Linked DNA regions of Homo sapiens: region 2 is linked to region 1. The links are contacts of gene promoters, found by promoter capture Hi-C in blood cells and fetal thymus (Javierre and others, 2016). All regions are on one chromosome and are shown on one strand. The core of a region is centred on a gene start or on the middle of the fragment in contact, and the rest is flanking DNA. Distances in the headings are between cores, read along the strand shown.

Region 1 (5,730 bases), core at 369-2,868:
GGAGGAGGGGCCTTCCGCCTTGGGGAAAGGGGGAGCCTTGGGGGGCGGTGGGTCCATGGCCTCCGGAGAGGAGGACCGAGGGTGGGGTGGCCGCGGCGGCAGCAGCAGCATCTGGAGCGGCAGCTGGGAGCGGCGGAGGGGAGATTAGTTAAAATTGCCACTTCCTTTTAGGAAAAGTTTCCTAAAATGGAAAGCATCCCCACTATCACTGCTTGTTACCCTTTGTGCGCCACTGACTACCTCCCTAGCAAAATAAAAACTGTGACTCCAGCCCGGCTCTCCCACGTTCCATCAAGCTGCCTCGGAGAGGGCCTCCAACTGAGCTCTGCAAAACCCCGCCACCACCTGCCACTCCTCCTGGGTCCACCTCTCACCACTCAGGTCAGGTCTGAGGACGTAGTCCCCCGACTTTTCTTCCCTTTTCTCCTCTCAACCCACCCCAGCAGACAATCAATCCCTAAATCTGTTTACCTCTTTACATCTTAGACCCCGGGCCTCCTGACCGCCGAGATTTCTCTAATCTGTGGTTTCTTCTTTTTTCCTGTTGCCCAGCCCCAGTTCAGTTTACTTCCCCTCCCTTTGCCGCCCCCTACCCCCCCACCGGCCCCCGTATCGGCCTCCTGGCCCTCCGTCCCCACTACATGCCGCAGGGCCTCCCCATCTTCATATTCCGTGGCCTCCCTCACTTCCTCTCTAGGTACCTCCCCAGAGCCCCACTAACCCAATTCCCCACATTTCACTAGGGCTTTTCCATCCTGTTCCTACACTTAGCACCTCGAAGTCTAGTCACCTCTCCCCACTACGGAACCCATCGTCTTACTACATCTATACACCCCAAAATGGCTCAAATGCCTTCCTTCTGTATACCCCGCCCCCCCAACCTGGCTACCTGCTACATTCTCCCCAAAGGCCCCCTTTTCTCTCGCCCCCCATATATGGCGGTGACATCGTTACTTCTTTCTGTACCCATCAGGGGCCTTCTCCCAAACCCCGTTATGCACACCAGGCTCCGGGACTCCGCTTCCCACAGCACCTCTCCCAAGCCCACTTTCCCCTCCTTTCTGTGTACGTCTGGCATCTCTCTTTCTCCTCGTGTTCACCTCTTCCAGGAGCCCCATCCCTCTCCCTGTTACACACAGCGTGGTCCCCCGCCCGTTCTTTTGCTCTGCTCCCCTTGTTTATGGGAACCCCAGCGCCCGGGCGTTTTCGCCCCCATCCCGCTACACACCGCCTGTCCCCTGGCCCTGGGGCCCCTCCTATTGCCTTCACTTCCCCAAGGAGCCCTGGCGCCTCGACTTCCCCTCCCGTCCCTCCGCCCGATCCTGCCGCTCCCGACCCCCACCCCCATCCCGGGTGGCTCCAGCGCACTCCCCCAGCCTGCCTGGCCCCGGCGTCGTCCCAGGGCCAGGCTCCTCCCTCCATCCCGGCCCCCGTACCCCGTGCGGCGGCCTCTCGGGTCCGGAGGAACGGGCCGAGGTCCCGGGCGGCCCCGGGCTTCCCCTGGCGAGCGCCGGCGGCGGAACCGAGACTTCCGGGCAGCTCCGGGCCGGCGGCGCCGGGGACGCGGGGACTGGGGGCGCGGGGGTGCGAGGGGTTGGCGGAGTCCCTGGGAAAAGGCGCCGGCCGGAAGCGCGCGAGCCCAGTGCGGAGGTTCCGCCGCCTGGAGCCGGCGCTCCCACCCCTCGCCTCTGCGGAGCGCCCTGCGGGGAGGGGACCGGAGGCGTGGGGTCCACTGAAGACGCCCGCCCCCGGCGGCCCCGCTCCCCTCCCACCTCCCGAACGGAACGATTCCGCCGCTTGACAAGAGATCGGCCAATAAACCGAGACTAAGCAAAGTTACGTCTTCGCCCTAAGGCCCACAAGGGTTTGTCCTCTTTCCACTGGGCCGTCGCTGCCTGCTCGGCCGTGGCCACCCACCGAGGTAGAGGGCGGGAGAAGGGATGTTCCTGCCGGCTGAGCAAATGTGGAGACCGAGGTCCAGAGACCAGCCATTGGCTCCGATGTGGCCGGGCCGTGATTCTCCACCCAGCAAATGGGGAGGCCGAGGCCCGGAGAAGGCCAGACGCTGCCAGATAGTTGGGGAAGGTATGTTCTTTCCACGGGGCACATGCGGGAACCGAGGCCCACAGAGGGCCAGACGGCTGCATGCGCAGGTGGGGAGGTGTGATATTTCCAGAAGGCATGTGGCGACACCGAAGCGCAGCGAAGGCCAGGCTTTGCCAGATGCGGAGGTGGGAAAGGCTGGCACTGCCCACGGGGCCCACTGGAAGCCTGATGCGGGCTCGCGGGCTGCGCCAGGTCCTGGGGCACTTGAGGCCCGGGCGCTGGCTGCGCATGCGAAGGACTCCGGCGTCGAAAGCAACGCGCGGTGGCGCTGCAGCCGCACTGGAGAGCTGCACACGCGGCAGCACTCGGGGCAGCTGCAGCTCCTCCTCCAGCCACGTGGCGCCACGGCCTCGCAGGAGGGCGGCAGCAGCAGCATCTGCAGGTGCAGCTGAGAGTGGGGGACAGAAGAGGAGTAACTGTCACAGCGAGCCCCAAGACCCTGGGGTGCCACAGCTACATCCTAGAGCACTGTCCATCAGAACTTTCTGCAATGGTGGAAAGTTCTATGACAGTCACTAGCCACGTGGGACTCTTACACTCTTGAAATGTGGCTGGTGTATCAGAGGACCTGAATTTTAAATTGTATTACATTTCCCATAATCAGCACGGTGGCTCACACCTGTAACCCCAGCACTTTCGGAGGCCAAGGCGGGCGGATCACCTGAGGTCAGGAGTTCGAGACCAGCCTGGCCAACATGGTGAAACTCCTTCTCTACTAAAAGTACAAAAATTAGCCGGCCGTAGTGGTGCTCCCCTACAGTCCCAGCTACTTGGGAGGCTGAGGCAGGAGAATCGCTTGAACCCAGGAGGTGGAGGTTGCAGTGTGCCAAGATCGTGCCACTATACTGCAGCCTGGGCAACAGAGGGAGACTGTCTCAAAAAATACTAATTTCCCATAATCAAAATTTAAGCCACATATGGCTCCTACCTTATGGAACAATTCCAGAGACCACTGTCAACCAGTTGTAAACTGGAGGCCCAAGGGCCCAAAAGGCCTCACAGTTATATTTGGTTTGGGACACAAGGTACTTTTTAAACATTTTACTGGGCAGTATGTATATTTTTTGAGACAGAGTCTCACTCTGTCGCCCACGCTGGAGTGCAGTGGCATGCTTCTGGCTCACTGCAGCCTCACCCTCCCAGGCACAAGTGATCCTTCCACTTCAGTCTCCCAAACAGCTGGGACTACAGGCGTGGGCCACCACACATTTTGAGCCGGACCACTCTTTGTTGTGGGGGCCCATCCTGTGCACTGTAGAGTGTTGAGCAGCATCCTTGGCCTCCACCCACCAGATGGCAGTAGCACCCTCCCCCAACCCCAAGTTGTGACAACCCAAAATGTCTCTACACATTGCCCGTGTCCTCTAGGAGGCAACATGGCTCCTAGCTGAGAACCCCTGGTCTACTTAGACAATTATCCAACCTGAGTGTCTTGCCAAGATCCCTGATATAGTTAAGATGTCTGTCCCCTCCAAATCTTTTTTTTTTCTTTTTTTTTTTTTTTTTTGGAGATGGAGTCTTGCTCTGTTGCCCAGGCTAAAGTGCAGTGGCGCAATTCTAGGCTCACTGCAACCTCCAACTCCCGGGCTCAGGTGATTCTCCTGTTTCCACCTCCCAAATAGCTGAGATTACAGGTATGCACTACCACGCCCAGCTGTATTATATAAAATATAACAATTTTATATTTTTGGTAGAGACAGGTTTCACCATATTAGCCACCTGGTCTCCAACTCCTGACCTCAGGTGATCCACCTGCCTCAGCCTCCCAAAGTGCTGGGATTACAGGGTTGAGCCACCACACCTGGCCTCCTCCAAATCTCATGTTGAAATGTAATCCCCAGTGTTGGAGACGGGGCTTGGTGGGAGGCATTTGGATCATGGGGGTGGATCCTTCATGAATGGCTTGGTGCCATCCTCGAGGTAATGAGTGAGATCTCGCTGAGTTCACATGAGATCTAGTTGTTTAAAAGAGCATGTCAGGCTGAGCGTGGTGGCTCACGCCTGTAATCCCAACACTTTGGGAGGGCGAGGCGGGCAGATTACGAGGTCAAGATCAAGACCATCCTGGCCAACACGGTGTAACCTGGTCTCTACTAAAAACACAAAAATTAGCTGGGCGTGGTGGCAGGCGCCTGTAGTCCCAGCTACTTGGGAGGCTGAGGCAGGAGAATCACTTGAACCCGGGATGCAGAGGTTGCAGTGAACCGAGATTGTGCCACTGCACTCCAGCCTGGCAACAGAGCAAGACTCCATCTAAACAAACAAACAAACAAACAAACAAAAAAGCGTGTCACCTCCTGCCAGTCTTTTCCCCCCACCATGAGATATGCCAACTACCCCTTTACCTTTCACCATGATTGTAAGCTTCCTGAAGCCCTCGCCAGAAGCAGCTGCCAGGACCACACGTCCTGTATAGCCTGCAGAACCGTAAACCAATTAAGCTTCTTTTGTTTATAAATTACCCAGCCTCAGGTATTCACTCATAGAGACACAATGAAACTAACACAATCCCTCTCTTGAGTTTCAGACCATATAACTAGTGGCACTGTAGTGGCCACAACCCCCACCCCCACTGCTATCCCCAGAAATAATGACAACAATAAGCAACATTTATTGAGCCCTCACTCGGGAACAGCCATTGCTAAACGCACAGCATCCTCAGGGCAGAGCTACAAGGAAAGCACCATGAGGATCCCTGTTTTACAGATGAGGGAAGCAGAGCTCAAAGAGATCGTGTGATTGGCCTGAGGTCACACATCCGCAGGCGGGATGGCCAGGATAGCACCTGCCTCTGCCCACACCAGGTCAGTGCACATGACCCCTGTCAGCAAGCCACACACTTCCCTGTAATCCCACCATCGCCGCTGCCACCCCAGCGCAAACCACCACCACTTACGCCCAGCTTATAGCAGCAGCAGCCTCCGCCTCCATCACTCTCTCCCTCCCCTCTCGTTTTTTTTGTTGCTGTGTCTTTTTTCAGACAGAGTCTCACTCTGTCGCCCAGGCTTGAGTACAGTGGCACGATCTCAGCTCACTGCAGCCTCCACCTCCCAGGTTCAAGCGATTCTCCCGCCTCAGCCTCCTGAGTAGCTGGGATTACAGGCGCGCACCACCATGGCCGGCTAATTTTTTGTAATTTTAGAAGAGACAGGGTTTCACCCTGTTGCCCAGACTGGTCTCGAACTCCTGGCCTCAAGCGATCCGCCTGCCTCAGCCTCCCAAAGTCCTGGGATTATAGGCGTGAGCCACCATGCCTGGCCTTCTCCCTCCCTTCCCTATGGCAATTTCCAAGTGATTTTTTAAGCTCACAGAATCATTCCCTGACTTAAAACCTTCCCCTCTGAGACACAGCAACATATTGAGACCCTGTCTCTCCAAAAAAAATGATAATAATAATTAGGCAGAGGTGGTGGTGCCTGCCTACAGTCCCAACTACCCAGGAAGCTGAGACAGGATTGCCTGAGCCCAGGAGTTTCAGACTGCAGTGCGTCATGATCAAAACCTTCCCCTCTGCCCTTAGAGTAAACCCAGACACTCTGCAAGGCCCTGCGTAGACTGGCCCCCCAGCTGCCTTCCCTTCTGGGCACCATGGTGCTGGCTTTCCCTTGCCCAGTGCACCAGCCT
Region 2 (5,730 bases), core at 1-2,500, 530 kb after region 1:
TTTTCGTGGCTCCCTCTGGAGTCCCGACTTGCTGGGACACCGTGGCTGGGGTAGGTGCGGCTGACGGCTGTTTCCCACCCCCAGGCCTGCATTGATGAGAACCTGGAGGTGGTGCGCTTCTTGGTGGAGCAGGGCGCCACTGTGAACCAGGCAGACAACGAGGGCTGGACGCCACTGCACGTGGCCGCCTCCTGTGGCTACCTAGATATCGCCAGGTGAGGCAAGGGAGGGCCGGGCAGGACCTGGTCGGGGTGGGGGCCTGGACCCTCAGCCCTGACCAGCCCCCACCCCCAGGTACCTCCTGAGCCACGGGGCCAACATCGCCGCCGTCAACAGTGACGGGGACCTGCCCCTGGACCTGGCCGAGTCGGACGCCATGGAGGGGCTGCTGAAGGCGGAGATCGCCCGCCGAGGTGGGCTCTGGTGTGCTGTGTGTGGGGTGGGGGACACCTCCTCACCCGTGGTCTCCAGGCTGAGAGCTTTAGAGGCGGCCTGGGCACCGAGGCTGACCCTGCTTCCTAGGATTGTCTTTCTTTGTGCCTCAGTTTCCTCACCTGTGAAATGGGGGTGTAGGGGCCTGCCTCCAGGATTGCTTGGAGCCCAGCACACGCACAGGATGAGAACTCAAACCCCTACCAACTGGGACTGTCAATCCCCCTGAGTAACTGAGGGGATTGGAATGCCGGGGCGGGGTGGGTGGGTGGAGGGACTCACCCAGGAGTGCGTTAGGTAGGATTGCTGGAACCCTGCCGCAGGTCTTTCTGGGAGGGGATGCGTTTACTTGGGGGGGAGTAGGGGCATGCAGGGGTTGCCAGGGACTGGTCTCCCTGTCCTCTGAGACTCATCGTACCCCAGGAGCCTTCATATGGGGTCCAGGAGCCCCTGAAACTGTGTCTGGCCAGGTTCATTTTTCTAGGGAAGGGGTGTTGCTTCTAGCAGGTGTGTGATGGCCACACAGGATCCCTGGGTCCCCAGCATGTCTTCTAAAGTCCTGGGCTTGCCTCCCAGCTCTGCCTGTGACTGGTGACTCCAGGCACGTCCCTGAAGCTTGCTTCCCTGATTTCCTAAAACAGGACCACTGGTGCCGCTTCATGGGGTGGTTGTCAGGGTCTGGCTGGGTTGGAGTGGAAGGGTGTGAGCATGGTTCCCGGCAGACTCCAGGGGACCGTGTGGAAGGAAAGGGAGACTGACGAGGAAATGAGATACCGGCAGCCTCCGAGACTTCTGACGCGGCTGTCCTGACGGGGCCGCTGGCCAGGCTGAAAGGATAGGATTCCGCGTGGGTTCAGGGGTCCACGAGAGCCATGCGGGAGGACTAGCTAGTGGGACACGTGACGGCGGAGATCTGAGGTTCGGGAGCCCCTCTTTGGTTGAAATGGGGAGTGGGTCAAATCAGCCCTGGACCTGGATTCTGTCTCCTTCCTCCTCCAACTTTTTATTTTGGGAAAGCTTCAGATTTACAGAAAAGTTGAAGCAATAGCATGTGACTACCCATATGACTTTCACTAAGATTCGCCAGTGCTTTTTCTTTTTTGTTTTTGTTTTTTAGACAGCTTTTTGAGATGTAATTCACCTACCCTACAATTCACCCAAAGTGCACACTTCAGTGCTTTTTAGTCTATTCACGGGGTCGGGCATTTATGACCACATTGGTTGTAGAACATTTTCATCATCCCCCAACGAAACCCTGCAACCGCTTAGCCATCACCCCCAACCATGCACCCCCCCCTCCCCCCCACCCCACGAAGCCCTCTCTGCCTTCTGTCTGTGGATTTGCTGTTTTGTACACTTCACATAAAGGGAATCATACAGTATAGAATCATCAGCTTTTAACTTTTTGATAGATTTGTGTTCCTTCTCTCTGTCCCTCCCTTGCGATCTCTTCCCAGGTATAGACATAAACACATTTTTTCCTATCCTTTCTCCTCCTGTTTTTTTCCCTCCATCTCTCCCTTCCTTTCTTACCACCCCACCCCTGCCTTTCCATTCCTGAGCCTTTTTTTTTTTTTTGAAACAGAGTTTCACTTTTTGCCCAGGCTGGAGTGCAATGGCATGATTTCGGCTCACTGCAACCTCCACCTCCTGGGTTCAAGCGATTCTCCTGCCTCAGCTTCTGGGTAGCTGAGATTACAGGCGTGAGCCAGCATGCCCAGCTAATTTTGCATTTTTAATAGAGATGGGGTTTCACCATGTTGACCAGGCTGGTCTCCAACTCCTGACCTCAGGCGATCTGCTGGCCTCGGCCTCGCAAAGTGTTGGGATTACAGGCGTGAGCCCGGCCATTCTGAGACTGTGTTGCAGGCATTGTACATCTTCGCCTGATGCACAGCAGGTATCTCCTGCCACAAGGAAAACCTCCTGCAGAACCACAGTAGGGATGCAACACGCTACCCCCTGTGTTGACCTTGATGCTACACTCTCACCCACCGCACCAACCTTGATGCTACACTCTCACCCACCGCACCAACCTTGATGCTACACTCTCACCCACCGCACCAACCTTGATGCTACACTCTCACCCACCGCACCAACCTTGATGCTACACTCTCACCCACCGCACCAACCTTGATGCTACACTCTCACCCACTGCACCAACCTTGATGCTACACTGTTGCCTGCGTTTCTCCTTGACATTCTTTGTAGCCTCTCCCGCTCTGGTTCAGGGCCCAGCTAGGGATCCAGATCTGGGTGATTTAGGCTCCCTCTGTCTGGATCAGTCCTCCTTTTCCCTTGGACCCCAGGGAGGCCGGGAATGGCCTCCAGGGGGTCTGTGAACTTTCTGACGTTGTATTTTCCTGCAGAAATTGCTCATAACTTGCATCAGCTTCTCAGAGGGGGCCATGCTTCTTCCCTCCCGTGGGGTGAGGAGAAGGCTGGGAGGGATACATTGGTGGGGGATATTGGCTTGTAGGATCAGCCAGGAACGAAGACCACTGGGGCCACTGGAAAGACCCTCAGCCGTGCTGCTCGGGGTGGGACTCTGCGGCCCCAAATCACAAGGCGACTGCCTGTGACACCCTGTGACACCCGGCTCCACACAGGAGCCTCAGAGGGGCTGCAGTGCGCAGGACCTGGATCACAGGCTGCACCCCAGCTCTAAGGAGGGCGGGTCTTTTGCACCCCCTGCAGGACACGCCCACATGATGCAGAATTCCCCGAGGTGCTGGCATCCAGACTGGCTCTGGCCATAGTGTGGCCCTGGCAGCCACTCACAGGCAGGGCTGGGAGAGAAGACAGACCGGCCTCAGGCACGACCATCCCCTTCGCTTTCCCTGGCTTACTTGCTGTTTTCCTCTCTCTGGGTCTGGGGTTCAGTGAGAGCACGTGATCTGCTCAGCCAGTCACCTCGTGGCCTGGAGCCACCGCTCCCTCCAACACCGCAAAGTCCTCTGGCCCAGTCGACTCAGGGGCTGAATCGGGCATGACTCTTTGCAAGAACCAAAACCCGTTCCTCCTGGCTCAGGCCGGAAAAGGCCATTTGAGGCCTGGCACAGTGGCTCAGACCTGTAAGCCCAGCACTTTGGGAGGCCAAGATGGGAGGATCTCTTGAGCCCAGGAGTTTGAGACCAGCCTGGGAAACCTAGTGAGAACCCATCTCTATAAAACAAAACACATTAGCCAGGCGTGGGAATGCACGTACGCTCCCAGCTACTCAGTAGGCTGAGGTGAGAAGATTGCTTGAGCCTGGGAGGTGGAAGATGCAGTGAACCACGGTCACTCCAGCCTGGGGGCAAGACCCTGTCTCAACCAAATAAACCAAAACAAAAAAGGCAATTTATATACCCGTGTTCATAGCATCGTTCACAATAGCCCAGAGGTAGGAGCAACCTAGTGCCCATCATCGAATGAATGGAAAATCAACATGTGGCCCATCCATGCGGTGGGACATGATTCAGTCTTCATCCCAGCACTTAGGGAGGCCGAGGCGGGCGGATCACCTGAGGTCGGGAGTTTGAGGCCAACCTGACCAACATGGAGAAACTCTGTCTCTACTAAAAATACAAAATTAGCCAGGGGTGGTGGCACATCCCTGTAACCTCAGCTGCTCAGGAGGCTGAGGCGGGAGAATCACTCGAACCTGGGAGGTGGAGGTTGTGGTGAGCCAAGATCGTGCCACTGCACTCTAGCCTGAGCAACAAGAGGAAACTGTGTCTCAAAACAAAAAACAAAACAAGACAAAACAAAAAACACACAATGTAGATGTATCTTGAGGACATTATGCTAAGTGAAAAGTGAAAATAAGCCAGTCACAGAAGGACAATTACTGTCTGATTCCACGTCTGTGAGGTACCCAGAATAGTCAAAATAATGGAGACAGACAGTAGAATGGCTGTAGTCAGGGACTGGGAGGAGTGGGGAGAATAGGAAGTAGTTTAGTGGGTACACATTTTTTAAAATGATTTTTATATTTTTTGTGGAGACGGGGTTTCACCACGTTGCCCAAGCTAGTCTGGAACTCTTGAGCTCAAGTGATCCACCCACCTTGGCCTCCTAAAGTGCTGGGATTGCAGGTGTGAGCCATTGTCCCTGACCTAGGGTACACGATTTTAATTTTGCAAGATGAAAAAATTCTGGAGATTGGTTGCACAACAACCAATTGTGACTACTTAATGCCACTGAATTGGGGTTAAAATGGTAAATTTTAGGCTGGGCGCGGTGGCTCAGGCCTGTAATCCAGCACTTTGGGAGGCCGAGGTGGGCAGATCACCTGAGGTCAGGAGTTTGAGACCAGCCTGGCCAACATGGTGAAACCCCGTCTCTGCTGAAAATATAAAAGTTAGCCGGGCATAGCGATGTACACCTATAGTCCCAGCTACTCGGGAGGCTGAGGCAGGAGAATTGCTTGAACCCAGGAGATGGAGGTTGCAGTGAGCCGAGATCTCACCACTGCACTCCAGCCTGGGCAACAGAGCAAGACTCAGCATCTCAAAAAAAAAAAAAAAAGATGGTAAATTTTATACTGTGTGTATTTTACCACATTTTTTTCACTCTGAGATGGAGTTTCTTTATTTTTATTTTTATTTTTTATTTTTTTAATTTATACTTTAAGTTCTATGGTACATGTGTACAACATGCAGGTTTGTTACATATGTATACATGTGCCATGTTGGTGTGCTGCACCCATTAACTCGTCATTTACATTAGGTATATCTCCTAATGCTGTCCCTCCCCCCACCCCACGACAGGCCCCAGTGTGTGATGTTCCCCTTCCTGTGTCCAAGTGTTCTCATTGTTCATTTCCCACCTATGAGTGACAACATGCAGTGTTTGGTTTTCTGTCCTTGCGATAGTTTGCTGAGTGATGGTTTCCAGCTTCATCCATGTCCCTACAAAGGACATGAATTCATCCTTTTTTATGGCTGCATAGTATTCCATGGTGTATATGTGCCACACTTTCTTAATCCAGTCTATCATTGATGGACATTTGGGTTGGTTCCAAGTCTTTGCTATTGTGAAAAACAGCAGCAATGGAGTTTCACTCTTGTTGCCCAGGCTGGAGTGCAGTGGCATGGTCTTGACTCACTGCAACCTCTGCCTCCCGGGTTCAAGCAAGTCTCCTGCCTCAGCCTTCCAAGTAAGTGGGATTACAAGCACCCGCCACCATGCCCAGCTAATTTTTGTATTTTTAGTAGAGATGGGGTTTCACCATGTTGGCCAGGTTGGTTTTGAACTCCTGACCTCAGCTGATCCACCCGTCTCGGCCCCCCAAAGTGCTGGGATTACAGGCGT

The links. Contacts are between HindIII fragments. The CHiCAGO score rates a contact against its expected background, and 5 or more counts as called.
Region 2: a fragment that was not itself captured here is called in contact with the fragment with the promoter of ZNF580 in region 1 in 3 of 17 cell types (total CD8 T cells, total CD4 T cells and activated CD4 T cells); the score reaches 9.0 in total CD8 T cells.

What each region holds. Positions count from the first base shown.
Region 1 is chr19:55,636,890-55,642,619 of GRCh38, reverse strand. It overlaps ZNF580 (zinc finger protein 580), which reads right to left and starts at 1,618. Exons shown (of 2, transcript NM_207115.2): 1 at 1,437-1,618; 2 at 1-123. The coding sequence starts at 111. LOC107983998 (a long non-coding RNA gene) reads right to left here. Exons shown (of 2, transcript NR_171683.1): 2 at 1,821-2,494. It also overlaps a transcript of ZNF581 not described here. RefSeq lists silencers at 1-57, 1-58, 1,249-1,768. The HindIII fragment of the contact is 9,119 bases long and covers 1-4,472 here.
Region 2 is chr19:55,107,150-55,112,879 of GRCh38, reverse strand. It overlaps PPP1R12C (protein phosphatase 1 regulatory subunit 12C), which reads left to right. Exons shown (of 22, transcript NM_017607.4): 2 at 85-215; 3 at 295-413. Among named protein-coding and RNA genes, the nearest start is that of PPP1R12C, 7.6 kb to the left of the region's middle. The HindIII fragment of the contact is 402 bases long and covers 1,050-1,451 here.